Linked DNA regions of Homo sapiens: region 2 is linked to region 1. The links are contacts of gene promoters, found by promoter capture Hi-C in blood cells and fetal thymus (Javierre and others, 2016). All regions are on one chromosome and are shown on one strand. The core of a region is centred on a gene start or on the middle of the fragment in contact, and the rest is flanking DNA. Distances in the headings are between cores, read along the strand shown. Region 1 holds the start of AAAS (aladin WD repeat nucleoporin). Region 2 holds the start of SLC61A1 (solute carrier family 61 member 1).

Region 1 (4,706 bases), core at 2,178-4,677:
GTCTCTACAAAAAAAAATACAAAACTTAGGCAGGTGTGGTGGCACATGCCTGTAGTCCCAGCTACTTGGGAGGCTGAGGAAGGAGCATCACTTGAGCCCTGGGGGCTGACAATGCAGTGAGCCGTGTTCCATGTTTGCGCCACTGCACTCCACACTGGGCAACAGAGCAAGATGCTGTCTCAAAAAATAATAATAATAATAGAGAAAAATAAATCAGTTAAGAATCTACTTCAGGGCCGGGTGCGGTGGCTCACACCTGTAATCCCAGCACGCTGGGAGGCCAAGGCAGGTGGATCACGAGGTCAGGAGTTCGAGACCAGCCTGGTCAAGATGGTGAAACCTCATCTCTATTAAAAATACAAAAATTGGCCAGGTGCGGTGGCTCACACCTGTAATCCCAGCACTTTGGGAGGCTGAGGCGGGCGGATCACAAGGTCAAGAGATCAAGACCATCCTGGCTAACACGGTGAAACCCCATCTCTACTAAAAATACAAAAAATTAGCCAGGTGTGGTGGTGGGCGCCTGTAGTCCCAGCTACTCGGGAGGCTGAGGCACGAGAATGGAGTGAACTCGGGAGGCGAAGCTTGCAGTGAGCCGAGATCGTGCCACTGCACTCCAGCCTGGGCAACAGAGCGAGACTCCGTCTCAAAAAAAAAAAACCAAAAAAATAAAACAAAACAAAAATTAACCAGGCGTGGTGGTGTGCACCTGTAGTCCCAGCTACTCAGAGGCTGAGGCAGAAGAATTGCTTGAACCCAGGAGGCGGAGGTTGCAGCGAGCTGAGATCACGCCACTGCACTCCAGCCTGGGTGACAAAGTGAGACTCTGTCTCAAAAAAAAAAAAAGAATCTACTTCAGGAACCTAGGAAAAAGGTGAAAGTGGCCTGAACTGGTGGGGATGAAGAAAAAGAGACAGATTTGAGAGATTTAGGAATTAGCATAAACAAGATGTGAAGACTAATCAGACATTAGTAAAGGAAAGAGCAATACAACAGAAACACCTAGGTAATAATTACATCAGCTAATATGCTTACAATGTGCCAGCTCTGGACTAGGTGCCTCACATTAACTAATCAAGCCATTATGACAATCCTACAAGATAGGTATTGTTATCACTGCATTTATTTTTATTTTATTGAGACAGGGTCTTGCTCTGTGACCCAGGCTGGAGTGCAATATCACCATCACGGCTCGCTGCAGCCTCAATCTCCTGAGCTCAGGTATTCTTGCCTCGGCCTCCCGAGGAGCTGAGACTACGGGTGCACACCATCATGCCCAGCTAATTTTTAAATTTTTTGTAGAGATGGGGTTTCAGTGTGTGTGTGTGTGTGTGTGCGTGTGTGTGTGTGTGTGTGTGTGTGTGTTAAGACGGAGTCTCACTCTGTCACCCAGGCTGGAGTGCAGTGGTGTGAACTCGGCTCACTGCAACCTCTACCTCCTGGGTGCAAGCAATTCTTGCACCTCAGCCTCCTGAGTAATTAGGATTACACACGGAGTTTCACCACATTGGCCAGGCTGGTCTCGAACTCCTGACCTCAAGTGATACACCCGCCTTGGCCTCCCAAAGTGCTGGGATTACAGGCATGAGCTTCCGCGCCCAGACTATCACTGCATTTTTAGATGAGAGAACAAAGGTGTGAAGAGGCTAATTAATATGAACAAGGTAATCTAAGTAGAAAGTAGCAGTCAGGATTCAACCATCTATCTACCCCAGAACCTATACTCAAACCACTTTTTCCTGAATGAGTAATATGATCATTCCTTAAAGTGAACCATCCAGAGAAGCAGATTTGGAGAGAGAAATAAAGAGACTGGATTTGAGCATGCTGAATATATGAAGTCTGCGAAATATTCAAGCAGGATAATTTGGCAAACACGTGAACACCAGGTCTGATGCATCAACTGGAAATCTAGCCCCAAGAACACCAACATTTAAGGGACATCAGGAAGAGGAGCCACCAAAAACCCTGAGAAGCAGCAGCCACAGAAGTAGGAGACAAGGAGCCTGGGAATGAATGGCTTTTCAACAAACTGATATTCAACTTCACACACACAGGCATGCCCATTAAACTGTACTGAAGTACCAAAGATCAAAGCTTGACAGCACATGTGTTGGAAAACAGGCACTCCCATACACTGCTGGTGGGACCATATACATGTACCATTTTGACAGAGGGCTATTTGGAACAGCTCACAAAATTACAGATGAACATACCCTCTGAGCCAGCAACTTAATTTCTAGGAATTTATCCTACAAATGGTAATGGTATTAATAAAAATATTAAGTAACCCTTTTTTTTTTTTTGAGACAAGGTCTCACTCAGTGCCACTGCACTGGCACAATCTTGGCTCACTACAACCTCCACCTCCCAGGCTCAAGTGATCCTCCTATACATAAGCCTCCCAAGTAGCTGGGAATAAAGGTGCATGCCACCATACCCAGCTAATTTTTGTACTTTTCTTGTAGAGAAAAGAACATGGTTTCGCCATGTTCCCCAGGCTAGTCTCAAACTACTAAGCTCAAGCAATCTGCTGGCCTCAGCCTACCAAAGCGCTGGGATTATAGGCGTGAGTCACTGTGCCTGGCATAAATAACCCTTAAAGGAATTAATATGTGCCATTAATAGGTCCAGGTGCAGTAGCTGTAATCTCAGCACTTTGGGAGGCCAAGGCAGGCCTGAGGTCAGGAGGCCAGACCACCCTGGCCAACATGGTGAAATCTCATCTCTACTAAAATACAAAAAGTTAGCTGGGCGTGGTGGCACATGCCTATAGTACCAGCTACTCGGGAGGCTGAGGCAGGGGAACTGCTTGAACCAGAGAGGCGGAGGCTGCAGTGAGCCGAGATCGCACCTCTGCACTCCAGCCTGGCAACACAGCAAGACTCCGTCTCAAAAAAAAAAAAAAAAAAAAAAAGAAAAAGAAAATGAGCCGGGCGCGGTGGCTCACGCCTGTAATCCCAGCACTTTGGGAGGCCAAGGCGGGCACATCATCTGAGGTCGGAAGTTCAAGACCAGCCTGACCAACATGGAGAAACCCTGTCTCTACTAAAAATACAAAATTAGCTGGGCGTGGTGGCACATGCCTGTAATCCTAGCTACTCGGGAGACTGAGGCAGAAGAATCGCTTGAACCTGGGAGGTGGAAGTTGCAGTGAGCTGAGCACGCCACTGCACTCCAGCCTGGGCAACAAGAGTGAAACTCCATCTCAAAAAAAAAAAAGAAAATGAAACCAGGTAGTGTAGCTCCACTCCTACAAGTGCAAAGTGGATGACCTATGTAGGAGATTATTCAGTGCAACCTTATATCTGATCTTGCTGAGCTTCAGGTAAAAGCTCAGAAGTGGTAATGCCATGAGGTGGGGGCAGGGAGCAGGTTCACCTAATCAAGCCAGAAAGCAAGGCAAGTTACTAGAGATGAAATGGAAGTACTTTTTCCATAGTGTTCCTGGGAAGGGCAAGGAAGGGAACCTGACATTTATTGAGCATTTGAGTTCTATAATAAGGACTAAAAATTTCATATGATTTAGGATATACAGCTCTCGTGGAGACAGCCTGAATAAAAGTCTTTTGAAGAACACCCCAAGGTAAAGGGGTGTTGACTCATTTTCCAGGATCTGCAGACTGTGACCCAGGAAACCCTTTGCCATGCCTCACCAAATGTTGATGCATCTCTTCCACACTTGCTCCCGGTGATGGATGAAGGCAGTTCTTGTGCCATGGTCCAGCCTTCCAGGGGTCTTTAGGGGATCCTTTGTCAGTTGTAGGACAGGAAGATTGATCCACTATAGCACAAAAGTGAGGAGTGTGACGGTGATTCAGTCTCTTCCCAAATCTTTAATTCCGTGCCATCTCCAACCCACCGCTGGGCTAAGTATAAGAGATTCCAGAGGTCTGTTTCCCATTTCCACAAAGCTAACACTTGTGAGAATGGGAAACAAGTCTTAGCTCCCGTATCTGTGCAACTAGAATAATATTTCATAGGGTTGCTGTGATTATGAAACCATATGACATTTTTAGAAAACACCTGACTCAGCCTCTTTCTTACATAGCAAACGCTCAATAAATGTCAGTTTCCCTTCCTTGTCCTTCCCAGGAACACCATGGAAAAAAGTTCCATGTTGTATCCTTCTGATCCTCCCCAGATACTGTCCCCAACTTTTAGATAGTTCTCCCGCATCCTCACACTCCCTAGATTCTCCCTCATTCTCTCCATTCCCTCTAGGCCTCCTCCACAGCTCCTTAACCGTTCCCCCGTTATACTCCAATCCCAGTCCTAAAACAGATTCCAGCCCTTCTAGCCTCCTGCCGGGGCCAAGCTGTTTCCACTCCGCCAGACTCTGTGACCCTGCCCCTGTCACACTGCCTCCTTTCCCCAGTAGTCCCCGACTCCGCCCCCATGCCTGTAGGTCCCCTCCCTCCTCGCCCTGGCCACCTGGCCCCGGAAGTCGGGGGGCGGGCTCTCATAGCTACTGCCCGTCACCAGCTCGTTATTGTGCTCATATAGGGTGACTTGACCCCGAGGCGGTGGAGGAGGGAACAACCCCAGAGAGCACATCTTGCCGGTTCGCAGGACGTCTGCAGTCGGCAAACTCCTGGCCGGAACGGCACAGACCGCACTCCCGCAACTCGGTTCCCGGGCTAGATTCGTATGCGGACGGGTACCGCAAGGGACAAACGGCGAGGCGGAACTCAACGGAAGTGAAG
Region 2 (4,489 bases), core at 1,158-3,657, 68 kb before region 1:
ATTGCAGAAACTATGTGAGCTTGGAACTGGAAAGATTGGGTCCTGCTTCTAACTGCCTTTTACTATGTAACTCTAAACATGTTACCTAACCTTTCCAACTCTGGTTAGTACCTACTGTATGGATTGTTGTCAGTCAGATGAGATAATTCACCTACAGCAGTTGGACTAAACCTTCTTAAAACTCCTTAGGTACATAATAACTGATAAGTGTTATTATGTTAATATGGGCCAGTACTTTTGATAGTAATTTACATAACTTATTCATTTATTCATAGACTATTTATGGAATATTTATGATTAATACTTATCAATGACTGCTTTAAGTATAGGGAATACAGGTGAACAAAACAGATAAAAATCTGTAGGGAAAGAGATAGTAAATATTTACTTATTTACTTAGAGACGAAGTCTTGCTCTGTCCCCTAGGCTGGAGTGCAGTGGTGTAATCTTGGCTCACTGCAGCCTCCGCTTCCCAGGTTCAAGCAATTCTCGTACCTCAGCCTCCTGAGTAGGTGGGATTACAAGCGCGCACCACCAGGCCCAGCTAATTTTTTTGTTTATTTGTTTTGAGACGGAGTCTTGCTCTGTTGCCCAGGCTGGAGTGCAGTGGTGCAATCTCGGCTTACCGCAACCTCTGCCTCCCAGGTTGAAGCAATTCTCCTGCCTCAGCCTCCAAAGTAGCTGGGATTACAGGTGCACACCACCATGCCCAGCAAATTTTTTTGTAATTTTAGTAGAGACGGGGTTTCGCCATATTGGCCAGGCTAGTCTTGAACTCCTGACCTCATGATACGCCCGCCTCGGCCTCCCAAAGTGCTGGGATTACAGGTGTGAGCCACCGCGCCCAGCAATTTTTTGTATTATTAGTAGGCATGGGGTTTCGACATGTTGGCCAGACTGGTCTTAAATTCCTGGCCTCAAGTGATTCACCCACCTTGGCCTCTCAAAGTGTTGAGATTACAGGTGTGAGCCACCACACCTGGCCAAGATAGTAAATAAATAAACAAGGAAAATACATAGTGTACTGCAGAGTAAAAGCAGCAGAGAGAATAGAAAATTGGAAGGAAAGTAGGTAGATTACTGTGCTGGAGGTGGTGGTGTTGCTATTTTAAACAGGAGGGCCATGGAAGGCCCCTCTGATCAGGTGACATTTTTTAAAATTTTATTTTATTTTTTATTTTTTTGTGAGACAGAGTCTCGCTCTGTCACCCAGACTGGAGTGCAGTGGCGTGATCTTGGCTCACTGCAACCTCTGCCTCCCTGGTTCAAGCGATTCTCCTGCCTCAGCCTCCCGAGTAGGTGGGATTACAGGTGCCCACCACCATGCCTGGCTAATTTTTATATTTTTTTACTAGCGACGGGGTTTCACCATGTTGGCCAGGCTGATCTTGAACTCCTGACCTCAACTGATCGGCCTGCCTCAGCCTCCTAAACTGCTGGGATTACAGGAATGAGCCACCAGGCCCAGCCAAGATCAGGTGACATTTGAACAGAGAACTGGAGGAGGTGGGGGGGGGAACCACGTGGATATCTTGGAGAAGAACTGTACAGGGAACAGTGTGCAAAAGCCCTGGTGGTAGCCAACATAGATGGGAGGGAGAGGAGCAGGGGATGAAGTCAGAGGAGTGGCAGAGGGTCAGAGGACAGAGGGTCTTGTAGGCCATTATAAATACTTCGGCTTTTACCCTTAGTGAGATGGGAAGTCATTGGAGGCTCTTGAGGAGATGATACGGAAGCTGTAGAGAGGTTAAATAGTTTTTCCAAGGTAAAACAGCTTGTAAGTGGCAGAAGGTAGGGAATTAAGCTCCAAGGCTGAAGTTCTTAACCCCATGCTGCCACTGAACTTTAGCCTTCTTTATTTGGGCATTGCTATCCTGTGACTTCAAAGAAACTGGGACACTGGGAAGTTATGCGGCTTGCCCAAGGCCACACAGCTGGTAAGTGACAGGGGCAGGACTGCGCCTTAGTCTGTCTGCAGCCCGACTCCAAGTTCTTTACACCACACCGCCTCCCTCAGGTGTCTGGACCATACTGGCTTCTCTTGCATGGAGGTCACTGCAGTGGGAGAGGAGGCAAACCAAGGAGACCTTCTCGGCTTCGGGCAGCGGTGCTGTTCCTTAGGAAGCTCCAACCCTTGGCTCTACCGGACTGCGGGCATCTTTCCCGAGCACTGCACGGAAGAAAAGAAAATTGGCACTTATTTCAGGGTGGCCCCTCAGGCATCCAAGAGCCAGAGGAGCAGGTGTCACGGGATGGCAGCGAGCGAGGCCAGGCCAGGAGAAGCAACCGCAGCCTCCTATGGTCGCCCCTTCCCGACCCACCCCAGGCGTCAGGAGTTCCGCGCCCGGGTAAGGGAAGGAGGGCGGGCGGGCGGGGCGGGGCGGGGTTTTGGCGCCGCGCCCCCGTCACGTGATGAAGCCATCATGGCGGCGGCCAGAGGCCTGCCCGGCTCCCGGAAGCAGGCTGTGAGGGGCGGGAGCGCTGCTGGAACCCGAGCCGGAGCCGGAGCCACAGCGGGGAGGGTGGCCTGGCGGCCTGGAGCCGGACGTGTCCGGGGCGTCCCCGCAGACCGGGGCAGCAGGTGAGGCGGAGTCTGGGCGAGGTGCAAGTGGATGTGGCAGGGCTGGGCAGGGGCTAGGGGGCGCAGTGGGGTGCCAGTGACCTGGAGGAGTGGGCCTCTGAGATGCACACGCATGACCCTGAAGCAACTCGAGAGGCCTGCGCGGGTGGGAGGGATGCCCGGGACAGAGGATGAGACACTGAGGGCAAAAAGAGGCTCCGCAGCGAGGACGGGAGGTAATAGAAGGAAGTGTACGGGAGCTGCTGTGGGAAAGGGCAGTAGAATTTGCGGGAGCGGGATTATTGAAAGGGACTCCCTCTTCACAGGCAAGGATGGGTTGAGTGCCCAGTCCTCTCCCCTGTCTTCTTACCCCTCCCTGCCCCACAGTGTCCTAGGAGACAGCTTTGGCGTGGCCACTCCTCCCACCCACCCAACTGGTCCCTCCGGTCTGAGATCTTGGGGAGTGGAGTTGGCAGCGGGGTTGGGTGGAGCTGCCATCTGCTTAAGACAGCCCCTTGACCGTGCTGCCCGAAGGATGGATATGGCTCTGACTCCCACCTCTCTTCCCAGGTCGTCCGGGGGCCCACCATGCTGGTGACTGCCTACCTTGCTTTTGTAGGCCTCCTGGCCTCCTGCCTGGGGCTGGAACTGTCAAGATGCCGGGCTAAACCCCCTGGAAGGGCCTGCAGCAATCCCTCCTTCCTTCGGTTTCAACTGGACTTCTATCAGGTCTACTTCCTGGCCCTGGCAGCTGATTGGCTTCAGGCCCCCTACCTCTATAAACTCTACCAGCATTACTACTTCCTGGAAGGTCAAATTGCCATCCTCTATGTCTGTGGCCTTGCCTCTACAGTCCTCTTTGGCCTAGTGGCCTCCTCCCTTGTGGATTGGCTGGGTCGCAAGAATTCTTGTGTCCTCTTCTCCCTGACTTACTCACTATGCTGCTTAACCAAACTCTCTCAAGACTACTTTGTGCTGCTAGTGGGGCGAGCACTTGGTGGGCTGTCCACAGCCCTGCTCTTCTCAGCCTTCGAGGCCTGGTATATCCATGAGCACGTGGAACGGCATGACTTCCCTGCTGAGTGGATCCCAGCTACCTTTGCTCGAGCTGCCTTCTGGAACCATGTGCTGGCTGTAGTGGCAGGTGTGGCAGCTGAGGCTGTAGCCAGCTGGATAGGGCTGGGGCCTGTAGCGCCCTTTGTGGCTGCCATCCCTCTCCTGGCTCTGGCAGGGGCCTTGGCCCTTCGAAACTGGGGGGAGAACTATGACCGGCAGCGTGCCTTCTCAAGGACCTGTGCTGGAGGCCTGCGCTGCCTCCTGTCGGACCGCCGCGTGCTGCTGTTGGGCACCATACAAGCTCTATTTGAGAGTGTCATCTTCATCTTTGTCTTCCTCTGGACACCTGTGCTGGACCCACACGGGGCCCCTCTGGGCATTATCTTCTCCAGCTTCATGGCAGCCAGCCTGCTTGGCTCTTCCCTGTACCGTATCGCCACCTCCAAGAGGTACCACCTTCAGCCCATGCACCTGCTGTCCCTTGCTGTGCTCATCGTCGTCTTCTCTCTCTTCATGTTGACTTTCTCTACCAGCCCAGGCCAGGAGAGTCCGGTGGAGTCCTTCATAGCCTTTCTACTTATTGAGTTGGCTTGTGGATTATACTTTCCCAGCATGAGCTTCCTACGGAGAAAGGTGATCCCTGAGACAGAGCAGGCTGGTGTACTCAACTGGTTCCGGGTACCTCTGCACTCACTGGCTTGCCTAGGGCTCCTTGTCCTCCATGACAGTGATCGAAAAACAGGCACTCGGAATATGTTCAGCATTTGCTCTGCTGTCATGGTGATGGCTCTGCTGGCAGTGGTGGGACTCTTCACCGTGGTAAGGCATGATGCTGAGCTGCGGGTACCTTCACCTACTGAGGAGCCCTATGCC

Evidence for each region. The method cuts DNA at HindIII sites, captures the fragments that hold promoters and counts their contacts. A CHiCAGO score of 5 or more calls a contact.
Region 2: a contact is called between the fragment with the promoter of SLC61A1 here and a fragment that was not itself captured in region 1, in 1 of 17 cell types (total B cells). The highest score is 5.1, in total B cells.

The regions. Positions count from the first base shown.
Region 1 is chr12:53,316,909-53,321,614 of GRCh38, forward strand. AAAS (aladin WD repeat nucleoporin) reads right to left here and starts at 4,702. Exons shown (of 16, transcript NM_015665.6): 1 at 4,435-4,702; 2 at 3,657-3,784. The coding sequence starts at 4,557. RefSeq lists enhancers at 3,241-3,330, 4,549-4,706. The HindIII fragment of the contact is 2,664 bases long and covers 2,096-4,706 here.
Region 2 is chr12:53,249,688-53,254,176 of GRCh38, forward strand. It overlaps SLC61A1 (solute carrier family 61 member 1), which reads left to right and starts at 2,408. Exons shown (of 2, transcript NM_032889.5): 1 at 2,408-2,581; 2 at 3,131-4,489. The coding sequence starts at 3,149. RefSeq lists enhancers at 2,071-2,120, 2,254-2,925 and silencers at 2,391-2,670, 2,681-2,730. The HindIII fragment of the contact is 5,764 bases long and covers 1-4,489 here.